2 separate regions of the Homo sapiens genome follow, and region 2 is linked to region 1. Evidence: promoter capture Hi-C in 16 types of primary human blood cells and fetal thymus (Javierre and others, 2016). All regions are on one chromosome and are shown on one strand. Each heading gives the region's core, a stretch centred on a gene start or on the middle of the fragment in contact. The rest is flanking DNA. Distances are from core to core; before and after follow the strand shown. Region 1 holds the start of PFN1 (profilin 1). Region 2 overlaps NUP88 (nucleoporin 88).

Evidence for each region. Contacts are between HindIII fragments. The CHiCAGO score rates a contact against its expected background, and 5 or more counts as called.
Region 2: a contact is called between a fragment that was not itself captured here and the fragment with the promoter of PFN1 in region 1, in 1 of 17 cell types (naive B cells). The highest score is 5.3, in naive B cells.

Annotation. Positions count from the first base shown.
Region 1 is chr17:4,946,755-4,951,490 of GRCh38, reverse strand. It overlaps PFN1 (profilin 1), which reads left to right and starts at 2,961. Exons shown (of 3, transcript NM_005022.4): 1 at 2,961-3,228; 2 at 4,671-4,736. The coding sequence starts at 3,097. ENO3 (enolase 3) reads right to left here and starts at 372. Exons shown (of 12, transcript NM_053013.4): 1 at 309-372. RefSeq lists silencers at 1,502-1,911, 2,372-2,621, 2,752-3,091, 3,362-3,431, 3,462-3,691 and 1 more and an enhancer at 2,002-2,171. The HindIII fragment of the contact is 10,043 bases long and covers 1-4,736 here.
Region 2 is chr17:5,405,581-5,410,261 of GRCh38, reverse strand. NUP88 (nucleoporin 88) reads left to right here. Exons shown (of 17, transcript NM_002532.6): 5 at 1,353-1,529. Among named protein-coding and RNA genes, the nearest start is that of NUP88, 12 kb to the left of the region's middle. The HindIII fragment of the contact is 236 bases long and covers 2,129-2,364 here.

The DNA.
Region 1 (4,736 bases), core at 1,712-4,211:
AAATCCTTTCTGGTTCTCATTTTCCTGCTCCGAAATCTCCTTGGGCCCCCAATTCCCTATCAGGTTCCAGCTCTAGCTGCCCTTTTCTATCCATCCCTGCTGCCCTCCTCACAGCCTCCTTTCCCTAGATCCTTCGGTGTTCCCAGAGTTTGTCCCATCTGCTTGCTCCAGCCGCCCCTTCCCCCAGCTTTTTCAAGCATCTCCAGTCCCAGGAGGAAAAAAAGCAGAAATGTCCCCCACTTCCTCCAAGCCAATACCATGCTCACCCTTTACTACCTCCACCCCCAGGGCTGGAAGATTCACCCGACCTGGGATGTCTTCGCTGGAGGTTTGGATGGAGCTCCGAGTCTAGGTGGCAGCTGGGACAGTGTCAGCTCACCCCCTCTCAGGCTGCGCATTTATCCCTGAGCCACTCGGTCCCCAGCCAGCCCCGCCTCTCTTTCTCTCCATCCTCCCCCCTTCACACTGGGCTGGCAGCCAAGTGCCCACTACAGCCTGAAGCAGAAGCCTCTGGCCCTGGGCACCTGCCCCCTTACCAAAGGTCAACTACTATCCCCCACTTTCTGTCTCCCAATAACAGTCCCTGTTCTAATTCCACCCTTTGGGAGGAGCAAGGGAGGGGCTACAGATGAGGGGTCTCCCCCCACCCCAGGATTACATTCCCCTTTTGCAAACGTCAAGAGGAATGAGTGACCTTTAGGAAAGGCCAGGGGTAACCTGAGCCCTGCAAGGCTGGGGAGGGGGCCTGGAAGAGGGGCTGCAAGATTGACGTCCACACATGCTCAGATCGCTGGGCGGGCCTCTGTCCTCAGTGGGGGAAAGGACGGGACCCCCCACCCCAGAAGGCGAGAGGGTCTCACCTCTTAGGGTCCTCATAACGGCCATTCTCGGCGCCGCCCCATCCTACCCTCTCCAGGCCAGCCAGCGCCGGGATGAGTTAGGGGACAGGAAACGAATTTAGACAGGCCCTTTCGGCTGGCAAGGCGCCCGACTGATAACGCTGGGACAGCACTTGTCGCCCGGCGTGGGGACTGTCGGTCAGAGCCCCTTTCCCCATCGACTGTGGGCGCTCAGCGCACGGCCCCAGCCCATCAATGAATGGGGCTGAATCAACAGTGAACAAAAATGAATGGACCGAGGACGGGTGGCCTTTTGTGAGCTTCTGCACGCCTGGGGCTCTTCCGGCGCCCCACTTGTAGCACTGCGGGGAGGTAGGTCTCTGCCCTCGGTAGAGATCTCCACTTTGCCGGCTCTGGGGCCAGTGCGGGGTCTGCCCCGAGCTCCTCTGCAGCCATACCAGCCGACCGGCGGGGGACACACGGCGCCTCGGCCCGACTCGGAGGCCCTTCCCGTCGGCGCCGGGGCAGCGCGCGCCCGGTGACTCACCCCCGCCGCCCTCTCCCCACCCCTGCTCCCCGCCCCGCCGGCCCGCGCGGCCTCCCAGCCCCCACCCCAGGCCACCTGCCCCGCCACCCGTCCAGTCTCCCCTCTCGCCCCGCCCCCTCATCTCAGGCCGCTCCTCCCGGGATTTTTCCACCCTGGGGTAGGGGTGCGGTGGGCCAGGGGTCAGGAGATGGCGGGCGGGGAGCGCCGCCACGTGCCCGGGTGCGGCCCCGCCCGAGCCCGCCAGTGACTCAGCCGCGCGGCTGTCGAGGAACACGGACTCGAGGGGCGTCGGGGACTGTGGGATTCGGCGTGGACGCCAGGGATGCGCGCCGCGCTCGGGAGGAGAGAGAAAACCAACCCCCTTTCCGCCCGGGCCGCGCTCGGTGACCCCTTGCCCCTAGCCCAGGCTCCGGAAGCCGCCCAGCCCTCGGCGGCGGGTCGGAGGAGGCGGTTTCACCGCGGCCGCCGCACGGCCGTCCCGCCCGTCCCGCCCTCCCCAGGTGGCTGTGAGCGCACATCTGACTGCGAAGAAACCCAAAGGGCCCGAAGTGGGACTTTCCCCTTCTTGAAAAAGTTGCCACTCTTGCAACTTGAGTATTCTTCCGCCTCGAAAAATAGCCCCGCCTGTTAAGCCCCGCGGGTGTCCGCGCTCTGTGACCTCTGCAGACACAGGCCAAGGGGCACGGCCGGTGATCCAGACATTGCCTGCCTGGGGCGGGCGGGGCTGGGATGTGGGGTGAGGCCCTGGGCTAGAGCCGATCCAGAGAAGGGACAATCCTCTAGACTGAGAATGGGCCCTGGTGAACCCAACCTGCACGACCCGAGAAGACGCTGGGGACAGAAGTGGCCCCGGTGGGTGCCTTCAGCTATGAGAGCGACTAGAGGATTTGGCCAAACTCTTCTTTGCTTTCTTATTACTTGAATAAGTAAAATCAAGGGTGGTGAGGCGGCAGCGCGCACGGCTTCGCCCCCGCCCCTTCCGCCAGGCGGGAGACACGTCCCCAGCCCGCCTTCCTTTCCCGCAGGGTCCACACGGGTCGGGCCGGGCGCGCTCCCGTGCAGCCGGCTCCGGCCCCGACCGCCCCATGCACTCCCGGCCCCGGCGCAGGCGCAGGCGCGGGCACACGCGCCGCCGCCCGCCGGTCCTTCCCTTCGGCGGAGGTGGGGGAAGGAGGAGTCATCCCGTTTAACCCTGGGCTCCCCGAACTCTCCTTAATTTGCTAAATTTGCAGCTTGCTAATTCCTCCTGCTTTCTCCTTCCTTCCTTCTTCTGGCTCACTCCCTGCCCCGATACCAAAGTCTGGTTTATATTCAGTGCAAATTGGAGCAAACCCTACCCTTCACCTCTCTCCCGCCACCCCCCATCCTTCTGCATTGCTTTCCATCGAACTCTGCAAATTTTGCAATAGGGGGAGGGATTTTTAAAATTGCATTTGCAAAGTTCGGTGTCTGGGCTGGCGAGTGGGGGAGGGAGGGAATGGGGAGTAGGCCCCGCCCCTACCGTCCTTTGCAAATAAAAATCTAGCGGGGCGGGGGGGGGGAGGAGCAGGAAGTGGCGGTGCGAGGGCTGCTGCACAGCGAGCGGAGCCGCGGTCCGGACGGCAGCGCGTGCCCCGAGCTCTCCGCCTCCCCCCGCCCGCCAGCCGAGGCAGCTCGAGCCCAGTCCGCGGCCCCAGCAGCAGCGCCGAGAGCAGCCCCAGTAGCAGCGCCATGGCCGGGTGGAACGCCTACATCGACAACCTCATGGCGGACGGGACCTGTCAGGACGCGGCCATCGTGGGCTACAAGGACTCGCCCTCCGTCTGGGCCGCCGTCCCCGGGAAAACGTTCGTCAACATCACGGTACTGCGAGGCCTGCGCGGTCCGGGGCACTGCTCCGGTTTGGACCCTGAGGGAGGGACTTGGGTGGGGGCGGGCGCGGTCTAGGGCGCGCAGCGAGAGGCCCTGACTGGGTGCTTGCCCTGGAAGCGGCGCGAATGGCGGCTGCACGTGAGTGGGTCCCTCAGTTGCCCGTAGGTCCTATGCCCCAGGCGGCGGCGCCCATCCCGCCCGCTACCCCGCTTTCCGCGACGGGGCGTTACATCCGGGGCACAGGGCGGGGAGGGGCGCGGCGCCCGGTGCGGCGGCCCACTTCCGCCTCTCCCAGGGCGGGGCGGGGACGCGCCTCAGTTTTTACTGGGGATTGGGATTGAGAGGGGACCCGGGGATCCTTGGACCCCCAGCTCCCCGTCCGGCTGCCAGCCCGCGTCCCTCTACCATTGTTTCTCCTGGTGCGGAAGGGAGCCCCAGGCGCGTGGTCTTGGTCCCTTGCCCACCCTCTGTGGGCTTCTGGCCCCTCCTAACTCCGTTAGAGAGGGCGAGGCCACCACACGCCCCCCCAGCTCAGCACGTTGGATTCAACATTCCTGCGAGGCCAATCCCGGAAGTCCCCTCGCCCTCCCTTCCCGCCATCCGGCGGGGCCTGGAGCAGGGGAACTTTGTGAGAAGTTCTGAGACAGCATAAGCGAAAGTATATTGGTTTACTACCGCTGCTCCCACCACCATCTCCCTGTCCACACTGCCCGGAAGTGGGGAGGGGGAGCGGAAGTTCAAAAGGGGGGGGAAGGGGGTTTCCGGGCGGGAGGGGACCGGATGTGGGGGCTTGGGGTGAAAGGGGGAGGGGGGAAAGGTTCCCGGGGTACCTAGACCCGAGAGCTGGCCTGCCGGGTCTGGCCCCTGTCCACCTTCAAAAGTTTTCCAACTTTCCCGGAAAGCCCCCAGGGGTCTGCTTCCTCATCTCAGAGCAGAGATACCTGGAGCTAAACTCTAGGTTACTTGGAGACCCAGGCGTCCGGGCCCTAACAGCTCCTGCAGAACCTTTGACCAAATAAGGGCAAAGTTGCTTCTCTTGCCTCGCCCGCCCCCCTCCCTTCCCCTCTCCGCTTCTGCTTTTCCTGAAGGAGAGTTCTGAGCATCCAAAGGCTCCTCACTTACCTCACTGACTCCCTTTATTTCCTGGGTTTACTTTCCCCATTAACACTGACATCTAAATCTCTAGAGGAGTATGTCATCCCTTCCTCCCTGGTTCCATATTCTAAGTTTCAGAATCATGATCTTTTTCTGCACTAACGTCCCACAGTCCTCAGAGTTTCTCACAGTTCATTGATGTGTACTGAGTATATAATTTATACTTAGCCCCCACGGCGGGGTGGTTCTCAGAAGTGGAAGACAGGTGGGTCTTTGGAGAACACGGTGGGAATCTTGGTGCACTGACTAACTTGATGGGCGCTTGGTTCCTCTTCCAGCCAGCTGAGGTGGGTGTCCTGGTTGGCAAAGACCGGTCAAGTTTTTACGTGAATGGGCTGACACTT
Region 2 (4,681 bases), core at 997-3,496, 460 kb before region 1:
TGATATACATGTAATGTATATTTGCTGTAGAAAATTGAGAAAAATAGATCAAAGTATTAGGAAGAAAATGAAAATCTTTGTAATCTCCTATAGCTATAGCCTGTTTCAATACAGCACCCAAAGTTTAATCACATCATTCTACTTTAATCTAAGTTTAATCAGATCAGTTTAATCAGATCATTCTACTTCCCTGCTCTCCATACCCCATTGATTTCCCAGAGTCTTTACCTATAAAGGGTCCACAGGTATGCCACCTGATTGCCTTTCCAGCTTCATTCCTCCCTCTGTGCCCTGGCTCTCTGGGCTCCAGGCACCTTGGCCTCCTTGCCATTCCACAGACATTAAGCACTTCTACCTTAGAGCATTTGCTCTCCACCTCAACTGCTCCTTCCCTAGTTAACCACAGACTTGCTCTCTTACTTCCTTCAGATCTTTGCTCAAATATCTTATCAGAGTCTTTCCTATACCAAGTAGTCTAAAGTAGCACCTCCATCAATACCCTCTTACCCTACTTTATTTTTCATGATATTTTCTGAGTTTATGTTCCATCTTTATTTCTTCTCTTTTTGTGGTATTTCTCTCTCTAGAGGGCAGGACATTTGTTTAATTCACTGACATATTCCCAGACCCTAGAAAAGTACCTGGCACAGAGTAGGTGCTTTGCGAGTATTTGTAGAACTTACGGATCCTGCTGCTCAGAGACAACTGTTGATGTTTTCATGTGTTTTCCTGTTTCCTTTTTGCATTTATGTGTGTGTATATAATAAATTTTTGCTATTTGTATATCTGTGTATTTAAACTATTTAAGATGAGAGTAGAACCAAATAATTTTATGGCCAGCTTTTTTCACTTAATTTCATGAGAATTTTTTTTTTTTTTTTTTTTTTGAGACGGAGTTTCGCTCTTGTCGCCCAGGCTGGAGTGCAATGGCACAATCTCGGCTCACTGCAACCTCCGCCTCCCAGGTTCAAGCAATTCTCCTGCCTTAGCCTCCCAAGTAGCTGGGACTACAGGCACCTGCCACCACGCCCAACTAATTTTTGTATTTTTAGTAGAAACGGGGTTTCACCATGTTGGCCAGGCTGGTCTCGAACTCCTGACCTCAGGTGATCCACCCACCTCGGCCTCCCAAATTGCTGGGATTACAGGCATGAGCCACTGCACCCAGCTGAGAATTTTTAAATGTTAACATTCTTCATAATCATTTTTTGTCTTTTCAGTCCATTGCCTACAAATTCCATACATACCCACCTCCTGTTATTAGACATTTTGTGTTTTTGTTTTGTTTTGTTTTTCTTTTTACTTTTTGTTGTTTTTGTTTTTAACAAGTTGGTTTTTACATCTCTTTCCAGAAGGGCGTATACCGCATCTCTAGGAGAGACAGCAGTTGCATTTGACTTTGGGCCATTGGCAGCAGTCCCAAAGACTCTATTTGGACAAAACGGCAAAGATGAAGTAGTGGCATACCCACTGTACATCTTATATGAAAATGGAGAGACTTTCCTGACATACATCAGTCTGTTACACAGGTAAGTTGAGGTGGTCACCCACCTGAAATGAAAACTCAGTTTGGGCTCCAGTAGATATCATTGAGGCTGGACTTGGGAGCCATGTTTTTGAGTCTGTGGAAATGTTGCAGCCTTCACATGCTTGGCTTGCATATTTTTGAGAAAGAGTTAGTACAGGTCATTTGGCCTTTCATTTCTTCATATTATTTGGGTAAGTTCTATAGAATTCTTGGATAATCACTTATGATAGGCCTGGATTTGTGTTCACAAATTCTAGTTATCCGAACAAGTGCTTATTGTTTATCTTATATGAACAAGACACCACGTAGGCGTGGTAATCTGGTATCTTATGTCCCAGTTGTGGGGAGAAAGATACATACACATGAAAAAATACTATCCATACCACAGTATTGGTACACAGACAGTAAGAACCCCGAGGAAGGAGAGATCATTCTGACTGGGAGGTTAAGGAAATTTTCGTAGAGAAGGAGTGGTGTCATGTGTGACTTAAAGGTCTCATTCAGGATTAAATGAAGTATCAAGGAAGAGTGAGACCATTTCTGTCAAGGGCAGCATAAAGTAGCGTCTGAAAATAAGCAAGTGCAAGTGTCATTCAAGCTTAATTTATTAGACATTCTGGGCTAGAGCTGAGGATTCATGTAGGGAGCATTAAGTGATAAAGCTGGAGTATCTGTCCCGAGAAAATTTGCTGGAATTAAAAATACCTCGTTAAAAGAGTGAGTGTGGGTTTTTTTTCTGTAGGAATAGGGTAGTAGGAAGCCAGTGATGGTTTCTGAACAGAAGGACAAAACAATTGGTTAGGGAGGGGACTGGGACAGAGACTTTTAAAGAAGCTTTTGCAAAATTGAGCTTGTCATTTATGAGAGTTTGAACTTGGGTGGTAATAGAACAGAGGGAAAAATGAAACACAGTAGATAACAACAAAGGAAGGATAAATAAGACTTAGTTACTGTTTGGATAAGGGAGTATGCCATGAACAGAAACAGGTCAGTAAAGGCTGCTAATTGGGGGAGAAGATTTATTTCTAAGTAAATCAGTGTAAGATAGTATTGGACCAATAAAATGGAAATATTCCATGGACAGTTGGAAATACAGGATGATGACAGACAAGAAGAATTAAAATAGAGGTATGAGAATCATCTTTCATGGTGAGAGAGTCTATACAGGATAAGAATTTGAGGGAAAACTGCAGAGGCATAAGGCTAAGGGCTGAGCATTAGAGTTTATTCGCTTGTAAATCGACTTAACAGATACTTATTCAGGACCCACTCTGGCAGAAGATGGAAATACAAGATTGAAGGCAAGGTTCCTGCCATGTGGTTCCTTAACTACCAGAAGGGCATACAACTAAACCAGTAACTATAGTACAGTGTCATGTGCTCAGGGCATCACCGGGTTCTTCAGGAGTGTGATGGAGTAAATGAGTAGGCCTGCTCATCTTGGAAGACTTTAAGGAAATGCTATTACAAAAGCTTGAACTTGAAGGATTCACTAGACAGAATCAGAAGTGGGTACAGGAGAGAGAAGAGAGTACGCAAAACCATAAAGATTAGAAAGATGAAAGAGCTCGGTAGGTTACAGAATGGTGAGGATTCACTGTTGAGTGCATTCTCCTTGGCAGAAATGTTCTCTGCCTTTCACACATGATCTCAGGAGGATTTTGTGGTAACTTTAGTACCTTCCCTTACCCTTTCTCCTCTTGCTGCTGAGCCCTCATTTGTCCAAACCATGATCTGCCTAGTAACGTTAGCCCAAAACCCAAAAGTTTTCTTCATCCTTACATTTCATCAGTCCCAAATTTCTATTGATTTTGTGATTTAAATTTTTCGAAAGTATACACCAAGCTTGTCCAACCCACGGGCTGCGCGCAGCCCAGGACAGCCTTGAATGCAGCCCAACGCAAATTTGTAAACTTTCTTAGAACATTATGATATTTGTTTGCGATTTTCTTTTCTTTTCTTTTTTTTTTAAAGCTCATCACGTATTGTTAGTGTATTTTCTGTGTGGCCCAAAACAATTGTTCCAGTGTGGCCCAGGGAAGCCAAAAGATTGGACACCCCTGATTATACACCCTTCTCTGCATTCCTCTGTCCCTGCTTCAGAACTGCATCATCTGCCTACTTCACCATCTGCCTGGCTTATTTTCTTAAATAGTTTCCCCAAATCCCATTTTGGACCCTTCCATGTCTTCCTCCCTAATACCAGACTGATTTGTAAAGTGAGGCTCCATCGCTTGATTTAAACCTCTAGTGATATACTGTTACCCGGCAGATAGATTTCAAATAGTTTAACATAGCACACAAGACTGTGTACTTCATAAGCCAGTCCTGGATGTCTGTCTAGCTATTTTGCCGTTGCCTTCCACCTTGTACTTTGCCTCCCATCATACTAAATAAGTTTTCTTGTTCTTAGTTCTTTGTCTTTCATGTTTCCAGGACTTTGCATAAACTGATCTCTAGCTTGGAATGCTCAACAATCCCCTTCCCAGAAATCATTCTTTCTCATTTTTCTCATTTATTTTTTATAGCTTTCTTCATTATCTTTGTATCTTTTTGTCATTCCTTTGTACACCATAAATCCTTCTGTTGTTGCACTTATCACATGGTATAGTAATTCTGGTTAAATGTCTGCCTCATCAACTAAACCATCATTCACTGGGAGTATCATCTAGCACTCAATAATAAGTATTTGTCAAATCAAATTTAATATGGGGATCCAAAGCCTTGAAGAGAAGCTACATTTTAGAAGAAAGGATTTGGTAGTCTTTGAATATAGATGGTAGTTAAAACGAGGCATAGTTTAACAGGCTCTCATTTAAGTGTGTATTTTGAAAAAAGTCAAAGCATACAACAGAATCCTGGAGAACACCAATATTTAAGAGACAGAAATTAGAAAAGGACGTTAGAAAATTGTGTTTAAAGAGGTAGGAAGAGAGAACTACAAGAAAGAATTGTTACAGCTGTTGAGTAGCAGTAGTCGTTAACCAGTGATAAATGCAGCAGAAGGTTAAGTGCATTTTGGATTTAGCAAATCTCACAGGTGACCTTTGCCACAGTAGCTTCAGTGGAGTGGTGAAAGCATAAACCATAGTAAATTTAGGGCAAGGGTTTTCAACCTTTGTACTATTGACATTTTGGTCTGAATTATTGTTT